3 separate regions of the Homo sapiens genome follow, and regions 2 and 3 are each linked to region 1. Evidence: promoter capture Hi-C in human tissues and cell types (Jung and others, 2019). All regions are on one chromosome and are shown on one strand. Each heading gives the region's core, a stretch centred on a gene start or on the middle of the fragment in contact. The rest is flanking DNA. Distances are from core to core; before and after follow the strand shown.

What was found. The method cuts DNA at HindIII sites, captures the fragments that hold promoters and counts their contacts. A contact is called where the count stands out against the background at its distance.
Region 2: the fragment with the promoter of ZNF551 here is called in contact with the fragment with the promoter of ZNF814 in region 1 in 1 of the 25 tissues and cell types used here (spleen).
Region 3: a fragment that was not itself captured here is called in contact with the fragment with the promoter of ZNF814 in region 1 in 1 of the 25 tissues and cell types used here (liver).

The regions. Positions count from the first base shown.
Region 1 is chr19:57,887,196-57,891,823 of GRCh38, forward strand. ZNF814 (zinc finger protein 814) reads right to left here and starts at 1,842. Exons shown (of 3, transcript NM_001144989.2): 1 at 1,572-1,842. The coding sequence starts at 1,607. RefSeq lists enhancers at 1-718, 743-1,286, 1,287-1,829, 1,503-1,552. The HindIII fragment of the contact is 24,676 bases long and covers 1-4,628 here.
Region 2 is chr19:57,679,696-57,684,323 of GRCh38, forward strand. ZNF551 (zinc finger protein 551) reads left to right here and starts at 2,282. Exons shown (of 3, transcript NM_138347.5): 1 at 2,282-2,549. The coding sequence starts at 2,469. RefSeq lists an enhancer at 1,974-2,597 and a silencer at 2,653-2,722. The HindIII fragment of the contact is 9,267 bases long and covers 1-4,628 here.
Region 3 is chr19:57,732,359-57,736,986 of GRCh38, forward strand. No RefSeq gene overlaps it. Among named protein-coding and RNA genes, the nearest start is that of ZNF671, 7.0 kb to the left of the region's middle. The HindIII fragment of the contact is 4,717 bases long and covers 294-4,628 here.

The DNA of each region.
Region 1 (4,628 bases), core at 592-3,091:
CAAAACAAAATAAAAAATAAAGACTACATCTAACCAGGTAAGGTCACAAACAAGGAAACTCTTCCACTATCAGTTCTCACCAGAGTATTCTGTAACTGTAAAAGATTAGGCCTTCAGCAGCTCAAAACTCAGCATCTGCTGCCTAAGGCTCTGCCACCTCAAAGACTCTTCCTTGTAAGACTGCAGGCCAATTGCCCACCAACTGGCCCAGACCAAGATGCCTTTTGTCTTCCTTGCTCCCTCTAAACTGGTTCCATAACGTTTGCTCCTATATCTTTTTCCTCTTGATGCTAAGCATTATTTTGTTCCTTGTGTTGTAATGCCCAACCTTGTTTTCACTAATCCTGTTTTTAGACTCTCCCTTTTGCTCTCTTAATCACCTAGCCTCGTTTCCACATGAATAGACTCTCGCTTAGCTGAGAAAGCCAGACGAGCTCCACCTGGCCCCCTTGATTTACAAGACATTAAGGACTCCTTACCCACCCCCCTTTCCTCAAGGAGTTAACTTGTGTAAGCAGATTCTCAACATATCAAAGGAGTCCAATTAACTGATAAGGGACTGGGAACAAACCATGTATGAAGTTCCCAGGATTTTGCTCAAAAGATAACACCATAAAGCCTTGAGTTTGTGTCTGGCGTAGTGCCCATATCTAACTCTTATGAAGGATTTAGAGCGCCACACCTGGTACCTTGCCTTTTTGTAACCATTTGTCTTTTAAATTGTTTGTTTCTCTGTAACCATTTATCCTTTTAATTTTTTGCATGTTTTTACTTCTGAAGAGTTGTTGCATTTAAGCTCCCCTCCCCTTCCTAAACCAAAGTATAAAAGTTAATCAAGCCCCTTCCTCGGGGCCGAGAGAATTTTGAGCGTTAGCCGTCTCTTTGGCCGCCAGCTGAATAAAGGACTCTTAATTCGTCTCAAAGTGTGGCGTTTTTCTAACTCGCCCGGGTACAACAGTGTTATGTTTAACCTTTAACATTTACATGTTAAGTATACTATTGTGTATTGTTTGCTATATTGACTGACTTGGGGAGTGTCTTCAGCCTCTGTGCCCATGGCCAACTACCAAGTGAACTGGAATCACAAGAGAATTGCCTCCTTCGAACTCCATTTAGCTCATGGCTTTTGTTGACTCAAATATCACCTGACACTGTGCAAAGACACAAACATGCATGGACCTGATTATCTCTACCCTTACAATGCTCATGACATCCCTCCTTTCTTCGAAAATCTCCATGCCTTCTAGGGTCCTCACGTGAGTTCATAGCCCCCAGCCTGCTTGCTCTTCCAGGAGGAGCTCCGCCTCATAATTTGCTCCCAACAGGCACCTGTGGACCCCAGATTCCATCCTTCTGGCTCAGTTCACTTCCAGGCCTTTGCCCGCGCCAGTCCCTGTACCTGCCGGTCTCCCCACCGCATCCCACGGGTGTCAGAAATGGGGCCCCTCCCGCAAGCGCCTCAGTGTCCCAACGCCGGCGTCCGGGCTGCAGAGCCGTGAACAGGCGCTGCTACCTCGCTGCTTTTGGGTGACGATGAGGTGACCTGAGGACACAGAAGGCCCCACAATTACCTGAGCGGAGAGCCTCAGCGTAGCCGCGGCAGCCATCGAACCACGTGGTTTTAAGCAGAGTCGGGAGGATAGGGCGACCAGCCAGGAGATATGGGCACGACGGTCCGTATCCTGGCCCAGGAGTGGGTCACGCTGGGCGCCGTCACAGAGCTCCAGAGTAGCCTCTGTGCAGCGGAGGACAACTGCTCCCCGACTTCTGGGTTCAGTCACCACAGTGCGGACCTAGCGCTCAGGAGCCTCTCCTACAAATAAATCCAACACCAATCAAAATGGCCGCCACCAGAGGGCGCCGGAAGTCCGGACCCATTGTCACGTGCACACAGGAAACGCCTTTATTCTGAGCCCTCAGAGGTCTTCTACGCTATCATTCGAGGCTGAGTTTTCTGGGTAATGTAGTTCCCTAGGCAACAAGGAGGGTAAAGGGCGCAATTCCCAGAGGCGCTTCTGCAGGAAAAGCCCAGCTTCACCTCGGGAGTATCCTTAAGATGTGCGTCCTGACTGGTATGGTGGCTCCCGCCTGTAATTCCACCAGTTTGGGAGGCCAAGTCACAAGGATCATTTGAGGTCAGGAGTTAGAAATTAGCCTGAGCAACAAAGCAAAATCCTGTCTCTACAAAAAATAAAAAATATTAGCGGAGTGTGGTCGGGCGGGCCTGTGGTCCCAGCTGCCCTAAGGTTGGGGTTAGGGTTAGGGAGCCTGAGGAGGGAGAATCGCTTGAGCTCAGGAGTTCGAAGCTGCTGTAAGCCGAGATCGTACCACTGCATTCCAGCCTGGGCAACAGAACGAGACCTCTTATCTAAAAAATAAAAATAAGGGCCAGGTGCGGGCGGCTCACGCCCGTAATCCCAGCACTTTGGGAGGCCGAGGCAGGTGGAACACCTGAGGTCAGGAGTTCAAGACTGGCCTGGCCAACATGGTGAAACCCCGCCTCTACTAAAAATACAAAAATTAACCCACATGGTGACATGCGCCTGTAATCCCAGCTACTGGGGAGGCCGAGGCAGGAGAATCTCTTGTACATGGGAGTCAGAGGTTGCGGTGAGTGAGATCCTGCCACTGCACTCCAGCCTGGGTGACACAGCAAGACTCCATGTTGGAAAAAAAAATAAAAATAAAAATAAAAAAATAAATAAAAGATTGCAGATCTTTCTCCTAGGCAGAGGATCATCCTGCCTCTCCTTAGAACTCACATTGAGATTTCTTGGGGTTATTGGCTGTAACTGATTACCCTAGTGTATGGAAAAATATTATTTCAGAGTTAGTGTAGATGTTCCCAAAGGCTACAGATCCAAATTCACCTATCATTTCAGATGGTCCTTCAGATGCAAAATTCTTCCACTGGAAGCAAAGATTAATGCAAAGATTAATAACCATTATTGTATTGTTAAAATGAACGTGTAAACACCCAGAGGGTTCATTTTTCCTACTGCCCAGATAAAGCCAATTTATCAGGACAGGGAAATTGCAAAAGAAAAAGAGTTTTATTCACACAGAGTTGGATGAACAGCATACTGGAGTCTTACTAGTATTACTCAAATCAGTCTCCCTGAAAATTGCGAGACTGGGGTTTTTTGTTGTTGTTGTTGTTTATTTGTTTGTTTGTTTTCTGAGACAGAATTTTGCTCCTGTTGCCCAGGCTGAAGTGCAATGTCACGATCTCAGCTCACTGCAACCTCCGCCTCCTGAGACTGGGGTTTTTTAAGGATAATTTGGTAGATAGGGGGCCATGAATTGGGGAATGCTGATTGGTTGGGTTGGAGATGAAATCATAGGGAGTCAAAGTTGTTCTCTTGTGCTGAGTGGGTTCTGGGGGAGAGGGAGGCACAAGACCAGATAAGCCAGTTTACCCATCTGAGTGGTGCCATCAGATCCATCAAGTTCAGGGTCTGAAAAATATCTCCAGCACCAATCTTAGCTTTTGCAATGGTGATACCATCCCTAGGAACAACTGGGGATGTTTACAGTCTTGTGGCCCCTGGCTGCATGACTCCTAAATGATAATTTCTAATCTATGGGGCCCTAATAAATCAGTAAGTTAACAGGAATTGGGAAGGAGCCAAGCTGGCAGAACAAGAACCTAACCCCATCTGCAACCTCTTTGTGGGAAGAAACCACAGCTGTCAGAAGTGTTTAACAGAGCAACTCCGTCTTGAATAGGGGTTGGATAAAATGAGGCTGAGCTGCATTCCCAGACAGTGAAGACATTCTAAGTCACAGGATGAGATAGGAGGTCAGCACAAGATACAGGCCATAAAGACGTTGCTGATAAAACAGTTTGCAGTAAAGAAGCCGGCTAAAACCCACCAAAACCAAGATGGCCATGAGAGTGACCTCTGGTCGTCCTCACTGCAACACTCCCATCAGTGCCATGACAGTTTACAAATGCCATGGCAACATCAGGAAGTTATCCTATATGGTCTAAAAAAAGGAGGCATGAATAATCCACCCTTTGTTTAGGATATAATCAAGAAATAGGGGCCAGGCGCGGTGGCTCACGCCTGTAATCCCAGCACTTTGGGAGGCTGAGGTGGGTGGATCACAAGGTCAGGAGATCGAGACCATCCTGGCTAACACGGTGAAATCCTGTCTCTACTAAAAATACAAAAAATTAGCTGGGCGTGGTGGCGGGTGCCTGTAGTCCCAGCTACTTGGGAGGCTGAGGTAGGGGAACGGCGTGAACCCGGGAGGTGGAGCTTGCAGTGAGCCGAGATTGCACCACTGCACTCCAGCCTGGGTGACAGAGTGAGACTCCGCCTCAAAAAAAAAAAAAAATCAAGAAATAACCATAAAAATGGGCAGCCATGCCAGGCATGGTGGCTCACCCCTGGAATCCCAGCACTTTGGGAGACCAAGGTGGGAGGATCATGAGATCAGGAGATGGAGACCATCCTGGCTAACAACAGGGTGAAACCCAATCTCTACTAAAAATACGAAAAAATTAGCCGGGCGGCTCTGTCTATGGAGTACCCACTCTTTTATTCCTTTACTTTCTTTTCTTTTTTTTGAGCAGGAGTTTTGCTCTGTCACCCAGGCTGGAGTGCAGTGGCATGATCTCA
Region 2 (4,628 bases), core at 1,032-3,531, 210 kb before region 1:
ATTCATCCCCAAAGGTCCTGTTACAGGGTCCCTGCATTACATGTGAAGCAATCCAGTAGTTATTTGAAGGTCGAATTAGATTAAAGATGTTTAGGCTGGGCACAGTGTCTCATGCCTGTAATCCCAGCACTTTGTCAGGCTGAGGCGGGCAGATCACTTGAGTCCAGGAGTTTGAGACCAGCCTGAGCACCAAGGCAAAACCTCATCTGTACAAAAAATACAAAAAAACAATTAGCTAGGTTTGGCGACATGCGCCTGTAATCCCAGCTATTTGGGAGGCTGAGATGAGAGGATCACTTGAACCTGGGAGGCAGAGGTTGCAGTGAGCTGAGAACAGACCACCGCACTCCAGCCTGGGTGACAGGCTCAAAAAAATTTTAAAAAGATGTTTATTGTAACTTCTAAGGGAGGAATTAATATTTTTTTTTTTTTTTGCTGGCAACTTTGATTAATTTAAACATACAAAAATTAGCTGGGCATGGTGGTGTATGCTTGTAACCCCAGCTACTCAGGAGGCTGAGGCAGGAGAATCGCTTGAACCCGGGAGGCAGAGGTTGCAGTGAGCTGAGATCGCGCCACTGCACTCCACCCTGGGAGACAGAGCAAGACACTGTCTCAAGAACAAAAACAAAAAAGCCCAGGCGCAGTGGCTCACCTGAGGTCAGGAGTTCAAGACCAGCCTGGCCAACATGGTAAAACCCTCGCTCTACTGAAAATACAGAAATTAGCCGGGCATGGTGCTGGCGCCTGTAGTGCCAGCCACTTGGGAGGCTGAGGCAGAAGAATTGCTTGAACCTGGGAGGTGGAACTTGTGGTGAGCCAAGATCAAGCCATTGCACTCTAGCCTGGGCAACAGAGTGAGACTCCGTCTGGGAAAAAAAAAAAAAAAAAGAACTGATAAACAAATTCACCTGTGTAGCTGAATTCAAAGTCAACATGCAAAAGTCAACATGTAAAACTCATATGCCCTTCCATACACTAACAATGAAAAATCTGAAAAGGAAATTAAGAAAACAATATCATTTGCAATAGTAATGTATATGGTCAAATGATCTCAACAAGGCTACCAAGACCACTCAATGGGGAAACGATGATCTTTTCAGCAAATGATGCTGGGAAAATGAAATATTCACATGCTAAGGAATGAAGGTGAACCCTTACCTAACACCAAAAACACAAATGAACTCAAAATGGACTAAAAACCTAAACATAAGACCCAAAACTATAAAACACTTAAAAGAAAATATAGGGTGAAAGTTTTATGACATTGAATTTGGCCATAATTTCTTGGATTTGACACCAAATACACATGTGACAAAAGAAAAATAGACCAATTAGACTTCATGAAAATTAAAACTTTAGTATATCAAACAATAACAAAGTGAAAGAGGAACCTATTTAATGAGAACAAAATACAGGTTGAATATCCCTGAGCCAAAAATCTAAAATCCAAAATGCTCCAAAATCCAAATTTTTTTTTTCTTTTTTTTTTTTTGGAGACGGAGTCTCCCCCTGTCGCCCAGGCTGGAGTGCAATGGCGTGATCTCGACTCACTGCAACCTCTGCCTCCCAGGTTCAAACGATTCTCCTGCCTCAGCCTCCCAAGTACTGGGATTACAGGCGCTCGCCACCATGCCCGGCTAATTTTTGTATTTTTAGTAGAGACAGGGTTTCACCATGTTGGCCAGGCTGGTCTCGAACTCCTGATCGCGTGATCCACCCACCTTGGCCTCCCAAAGTGCTGGGATTACAGGCGTGAACCACTGCGCCCGGCCCGCCCGACTAATTTTTGTATTTTTAGTAGAGATGGGGTTCCGCCATGTTGGCCAGCCTGGTCTCGAACTTCTGACCTCAGGTGATCCGCCCGCCTCGGCCTTCTAAAGTGCTGGGATTACAGGCGTGAGCCACCGCGCCCAACCCCCTGAAATAATATTTGTTTGCCTCTAGGGGCACCCTGAGCTTCGTGGAGTCTGAAATAATGTCTCTAAACACTTAAGTGATCAGTTACGGAAAACACTTCCCAGAAATCTGGGAAAAGCCCCTTTAAGAAGGAGTAAATACCTCCTTCTCCCCTAGAGGCCGAAGTCGCCATTTCCCTGCACGGGGCACAGCACCTCAGAATACAAGTTCGCAGAGGTCAAAGCAGTGGACACACTCCGAAGAGCTCCGTGGAGTTTTGGAAACTACATTATCCAGAGTGCAGAGCGCAAAACGGCGGCGGAGTTGAGCCAATGACAGCCCAGGATAGCAACACTTCCGCGCACGCGCAGCGCGACGGGCCGGAACTTCCGGCGTCCTCCTCGTGGCGGTCATTTTGGCCTCTGTCCTGTTTGTCCAGCCCGCCAGTTTCTGCAGTGGAGGTCGCGACTGAGGGACGGGACAGAGAAGTCGCGAAAGTGGGCCAGAGGTTCTGCGACACCACCTCGGGTGAGCTGCGCCAGGCCCGGGATAGGGACTGTTGTGTTCGAATGCCCGCCCCGGTCGGCCGCCGCTCCCCGCCTAGTCCACGGAGCTCAATGGCGGCAGTCGCGCTGAGGGACTCGGCTCAGGTGAGTTGTGCGTCCTCCGGGTCTCGCCTACCTCCCCCAGCAGAAGCCTTAAGGCCCAGTGAGGGATGCCTGCTCACAGCCCTGCAGCCCAGGCCCCAGTACCCTGGACAAGAAGGCGCTTGTGGATTGGACCCGTTTGTGACGCCCAGTGTGTACGGAAATGTGACGGGCAGTTGACTGGCGCGTGCAGAACTTGGAGCTGCGACTAAGCTGGGGGGGATTCAGGAGCCTGGGGTCCGTCTCGGGTCTGCAGGAACATAGAGTGAGGCAGAGTTGCACCTGACGAATTTGACGATTCTGAGGACACTGGCAGCCTTCGAGATTTGTGAACAGATAGGGACACTGGGCTAGGATTTCCTAAAGCTATCCAAAAGTTGCTCAGGGGAAGAACAGGCTGAAGAGAGGTAATAGTAGTTAGGCATAGGAAGACTGAGTTCTTGTCCAAGCTCACGCAGCTGGTAAAGTCAGCACTGAGAACTGAGGTGCGGAGATAGTGCAGCCAGCCCAGGCCACCTGGCTCCAAAACTGGACCAGGGTCATTGGGCGACCTGAGCCTCGCCACTCGTCTAGCCTTGGGCCCTGAGACTTTGAGCAAATACAAAGCCCAGAGTCTTAAGTCCAGGTTAGATTATATGAAGCTGTTGGCAGCCGGGGGAAAGGAGATGTAGAAGGTTGTCCAAGGCAAAGTTACCAGTATATGCTAAGTTTGGAGAGGAGGCTAAGATAGTTCAGGAACCTACAATTATTTTCTTTTCATGAGAACAGGGAGCAGTGTAGTAGAAGTCAGACCCGGAATGGTTCCCTGAGAAGTTGAGTTGTCTATTCGTTACTTAATAGTAACAGTGGGAGGTTTGGAGTGGAAGAGGGAGGTGATCTGGTTCTGGTCTTATTAGGCTCCCTGTGGCTGCAGCATGGGAAGCCAACTGAAGGATGAGGTGGGGAGACCTGGGAGGAGACTACTGGGATAGGCCAGGTGAATGTGATAGAATGTGATAGGCCAAAATGGTGGCTGTGAAGATGCGAGAAGCAGTTGGATTCTGGATTCATTTTTTAAGTAGGGCTGCCTGAATTTTTAGTTTTGAGAAAGAGAGTGGAGTCAGGGATGACTGAAAGGTTTTATTTTGGCAGTTAGAAGTGTGGAAGCTCCATCAACTAAGATGGGGAAGTACATAGTAGGAGTAGTTTTCATTTGGGATATCAGAAGTTTTATTTTTGACCTGCTAAGAGTATGAGAGCTTTCAGAGAATGGTTCATGGGCTGCTGGAACTGTAGGTCAGGAACAGTGAGGAGAGATTCAGAATGGAGACTTTTCCAAAAGGTAGTGGACAATCTGTGGGCCGGGGTGGAGCTGTGGATCACATTTAGTAGAGGGGAAGCCTGCTCACAATGATAATAATAGTTGTCAAGGAAGGGGAGGGGAAGGTCAAGGACAGGTCTCCTGTGTGAGCCCCTGGTTGTGTGAGGTGTTGCAACACAGGTCTTGGACAGAAGTGTTCACGGTGAGGGTCGTACAGAGATTATGATCTAGCATGTGGCCAAGGCTTCTCAGGGGTGAGTAGACATGAGATGAATGTAGAGGCATAGGAGTTAGACAGGATGATGCTAGGACTGGTGCGTATTCACCTCTCTGCAGACTGACCAGGGTTTTATATTAACTCTTGGTGGGATCTGGGAAGTTTCAGTCAGGCTGTCACGTTATCTTAGGGGCATAATTGGCCATCTGTGGGACTCGATGGGCCCGGGGTAGAGAGCCACTGGGGTTGGACCTTGAATTAGTGGTAGTTGGAGAGAGGAAGGCTGTGACTGGTTGGGGGACAGCAATCACAGCCCAGAAGTGGAAGAGGCCTTGGTTATCTGAGATCCACAGGTGATTCTTGATGGGTGAGGTTGAAGCAAGGAATAGTCAGGTAGAAAGGCCTTCATGGTATGACTTGAGGCTGCCCCTAACTTTAGGTGCAGTTAGAGATCTGGGATAGTACTGAACCGTATTTGAATTTGCCAGCCACTCTCTGGGCCCCATATGCTGAGTAACCAGTTGGGAGGCCAAGGAGATGCTCATGGTATGAGGCAGGAAGTAAG
Region 3 (4,628 bases), core at 1,402-3,901, 150 kb before region 1:
GGGCAAGGACTTCATGTCTAAAACACCAAAAGCAATGGCAACAAAAGCCAAAATTGACAAATGGGATCTAATTAAGCTAAAGCACTTCTGCACAGCAAAAGAAACCACCATCAGAGTGAACAGGCAACCTACAGAATGGGAGAAAATTTTTACAACCTACTTATCTGACAAAGGGCTAATATCCAGAATCTACAATGAACTCAAACAAATTTATAAGAAAAAAAACAACCCCATCAAAAAGTGGGCAAAGGATATGAGCAGACACTTCTCAAAAGAAGATATTTATGCAGTCGAAAAACACATGAAAAAATGCTCATCATCACTGGCCATCAGAGAAATGCAAAACAAAACCACAATGAGATACCATCTGACACCAGTTAGAATGGCGATCATTAAAAAATCAGGAAACAACAGGTGCTGGAGAGGATGTGGAGAAATAGGAACACTTTTACATTGTTGGTGGGACTGTAAACTAGTTCAACCATTGTGGAAGTTGGTGTGGCGATTCCTCAGGGATCTAGAACTAGAAATACCATTTGACCCAGCCATCCCATTACTGGGTATATACCCAAAGGATTATAAATCATGCTGCTATAAAGACACATGCACGTGTATGTTTATTGTGGCACTATTCACAATAGCAAAAACTTGGAACCAACCCAAATGTCCAACAATGATAGACTGGATTAAGAAAATGTGGCACATATACACCATGGAATACTATGCAGCCATAAAAAATGATGAGTTCATGTCCTTTGTAGGGACATGGATGAAGCTGGAAACCATCATTCTCAGCAAACTATCACAAGGACAAAAAACCAAACACTGCATGTTCTCACTCATAGGTGGGAATTGAACAATGAGAACACATGGACACAGGAAGGGGAACATCACACACTGGGGCTTGTTGTGGGGTGGGGGGATGGGGGAGGGATAGCATTAGGTGATATAACTAATGCTAAATGATGAGTTACTGGGTGCAGCACACCAACATGGCACATGTATACATATGTAACAAACCTGCACGTTGTGCCCATGTACCCTAAAACTTAAAGTATAATAATAATTTTAAAAAAGTCTATTCAAAGGGATAATATCGAGAATTTCCCAAAGATATTAGGAAGGATTATCTTTCCAAGAGAAAGATATCAATATTCAAGTACAAGAAGGCCGTAGAATACCAAGCAGATTTAACCCAAAGAAGACTACCTCAAGACATTTAGTAATCAAATTACCAAAGGTCAAGGGTAAAGAAAGGATCCTAAAAGCAGCAAAAGAACAGAAACAACACACAAAGGAGCTCCAATATGCCTGGTAGAAGACTTCCCAGTATAAACCTTATAGGCCAGGAGAGAGTGGCATGATGGATTTAAAGTGCTGAAGGAAAAAACTTTTATCCTAGAATAGTGTATTTGCTGAAAGTATCCTTCAAACATGAAAGAGAAATAAAAACTCTTCTGGATGAACAAAAGCTGAAAGATTTTTGTCAACACCAGACTTGTCTTACAAGAAATGTTAAAGGGAGTTCTGCAATCTAAAAGGATGTTAATGAGCAACAAGAAATCATCTGAAGGCACGAAACTCACTGGTAATAGTAACTACACAGAAAAAAAAAACAATATAGTAGCAATGTAACTGTGATGTGTAAACTCATATCTTGAGTAGAAAGACTAAAATATGAACCTATCAAAAACAATTCCAACAAGTTTTCAAGACATAGACAGTACAATAAGATATACATAGAAACAAAAAATTTAAAAGCTGGGTGACATAGTTAAAGTGTAATGTTTTTATTAGTTTTTCTCTTGTTTGTTATTTGTTTATGGGATCAGTGTTGTCATCAGTTTAAAATAATGGGTTATAAGATATAGTTTACCATGGAAGCTTCATGGTAAACTAAATTCAAAAACCTACAACAGATACCAAAAAATTTTTTAAAAAGAAATTAAAATATACAACCAGAGAAAATCACCTTCACAATAAGGAAGACAGGAAGGAAGGAAAGAAGGAAGAGAAGACCACCAAACAACATGGCAGCAGTAAATCCTTACTTATTAATAAAACATTGAATATAAATGGACTAAAGTCTCCAATCAAAACACACAGAGTTGCTGAATGAATAAAAATAAAGACCCAATGCTCTATTGCATACAAGAAACACCCTTCACCTATAAAGACACACATAGATTAAAATAAAAGGATGGAAAAAGATATTTCATGCCACTGGAAACGACGAAATAGCAGGAATAACTACATGTATATCAGAAAAATAGATTTCAAGAGAAAAACTGTGAAAAGAGACAAAGTCATTATATATAATGCTAAAGGGATCAATTCAGCAAGAGGACATAATCTTTGTAAATATATATACACTCAACACTGGAGCACCCAGATATAAAAGTAAATATTATTAGAGCTAAAGAGACAGATAGAGTCTGACACAGTGATAGCTGAAGATGACAACACCCCACTTTCAGCATTGAACAGGCCTTCCAGACAGAAATGGACTTAATCTGCACTATAGAACAAATGGACCTAATAGATATTTATAGAACATTTCATCCAACAGCTTCAGAATACCTATTCTTCTCAGCACATGGATCATTCTCAAAGAAATACTATATGTTAGGCCATAAAATATGTCTTGAAACTTTTTTAAATTGAAATAATATCAAGTACCTTCTCTGACCACAAGGCAATAAAAGTAGAAATCAGTAACAAGTGGACTTTCAAAATGCTACAAACACATGGAAATTAAACAGTCGTCTTCTGAATGACCAGTGGGTCAATTAAGAAATTGAGAAGTTGGGCTGGGCATGATGGCTCACGACTGTAATCCCAGCACTTTGGGAGGTGGAGCCAGGCGGATCACGAGGTCAGGAGTTCAAGACCAGCCTGACCGACATGATGAAACCCTGTCTCTACTAAAAATACAAAAATTAGCCGGGCATGGTGGCACACACCTGTAATCCCAGCTACTCAGGAGGCTGAGGCAGGAGAATTGCTTAAACCCAGGAGGTGGAGGTTGCAGTGAGTGGAGATTGCGCCATTGCACTCCAGCTTGGGAGACAGAGTGAGACTCCATCTCAAAGAGAAAAAAAAAAAAGAAAGAAATTGAAAAGTTTTTTGAGGCCAGGCGCATTGGCTCATGCCTGTAATCCCAGCACTTTGGGAGGCCAAGGCAGGTGGATCACCTGAGGTCAGGAGTTCGAGACCAGCCTGATCAACAAGGTGAAACCATGTCTCTACTAAAAATACAAAAATTAGTCGGGCATGGTGGCGGGCGCCTGTAGTCCTAGCTACTCATGAGGCTGAGGAATTGCTTGAACCCAAGAAGGTGGAGGTGGCAGTGAGCCGAGACTGCGCCGCTGCACTCCAGCCTGGATGATGGAGCAAGACTCTGTCTCAAAAAAAAAAAAAAGAAAAGAAAAGTTTTTTGAAACAAATGATAATAGAAACACAGCATGCCAAAATCTGTGGGATACAGAAAAATAAGTACTAAGAAGAATGTTTATAGCTATAAGTGCCTACATTACAAAAGTAAAAAAAAAAACTTTAAATAAACAACCTAATAATGCATCTTAAAGAATTAGAGATGCTAGAGCAAACCAAACCCAAAGTGAGTAGAAGAAAATAAATAGCTGGGCGCAGTAGCTCACGCCTGCAGTCCCAACACTTTGGGAGGCTGAGGCAGGTGGATCACCGGAGGTCAGGAGTTCGAGACCAGCCTGACCAATAAGGTGAAATTCCATCTCTACTAAAAATATAAAAATTAGCCAGACGTAGTGGCAGGCACCTGTAGTCCCAGCTACTCAGGAGGCTGAGACAGGAGAATTGCTTGAACCCGGGAGGTGGAGGTTGCAGTGAGCCAAGATCACGCCACTGCACTCTAGCCTGGGCAACAGAACAAGACTCTGTCTCAAAAAAAAAAAAAAAAAAAGGAAAATAAAATAATAAAGATTAGAGCAGAAATAAATGAAACTGAAACAAAGAAAACAATACAAATGTGTTCAACAAAATGATTTTTTTTGTTTGTTTGTTTTTTGTTTGTTTTTTTTGAAATGGGGTCTTGCTCTTATCACCCAGGCTGGAGTGCAATGGCAGGATCTCTGTTCACTGCAACCTCTGCCTCCTGGGTTCAAGCAATTCTCCTGCCTCAGCCTCCCAAGTAGCTGGGATTACAGGCACCCACCACCATGCCCGGCTAATTTTTGTATTTTTAATACAGACGGGGCTTTGCCATGTTGGTCAGGCTGGTCTCGAACTCCTGACCTCGTGATCTGTCCACCTCGGCCTCCCAAAGTGCTGGGATTACAGGCGTGAGCCACCACGCCCGGCCGAGAAATTGGTTTTTTGAAAAGTAAACAAAATAAAAAATCCTTTAGCCAGACTAAGAAAGATAAACCAAATAAAATAGAAGTGAGAAAGAAGACTTTACAGCCAATACTGCAGAAATTCAAAGGATCATTAGAGGCTACTATGATCAACTGTATGCCAAAAATTGGAAATTATAGAAAAAATGGACAAATTCCTAGACACATATAACTTACCAAGATGAATTATGAGGAAATCCAAAACCTGAACTGACAAATAGCAAGCAATGAGATTGAGGCTGTAATAAAAATTTT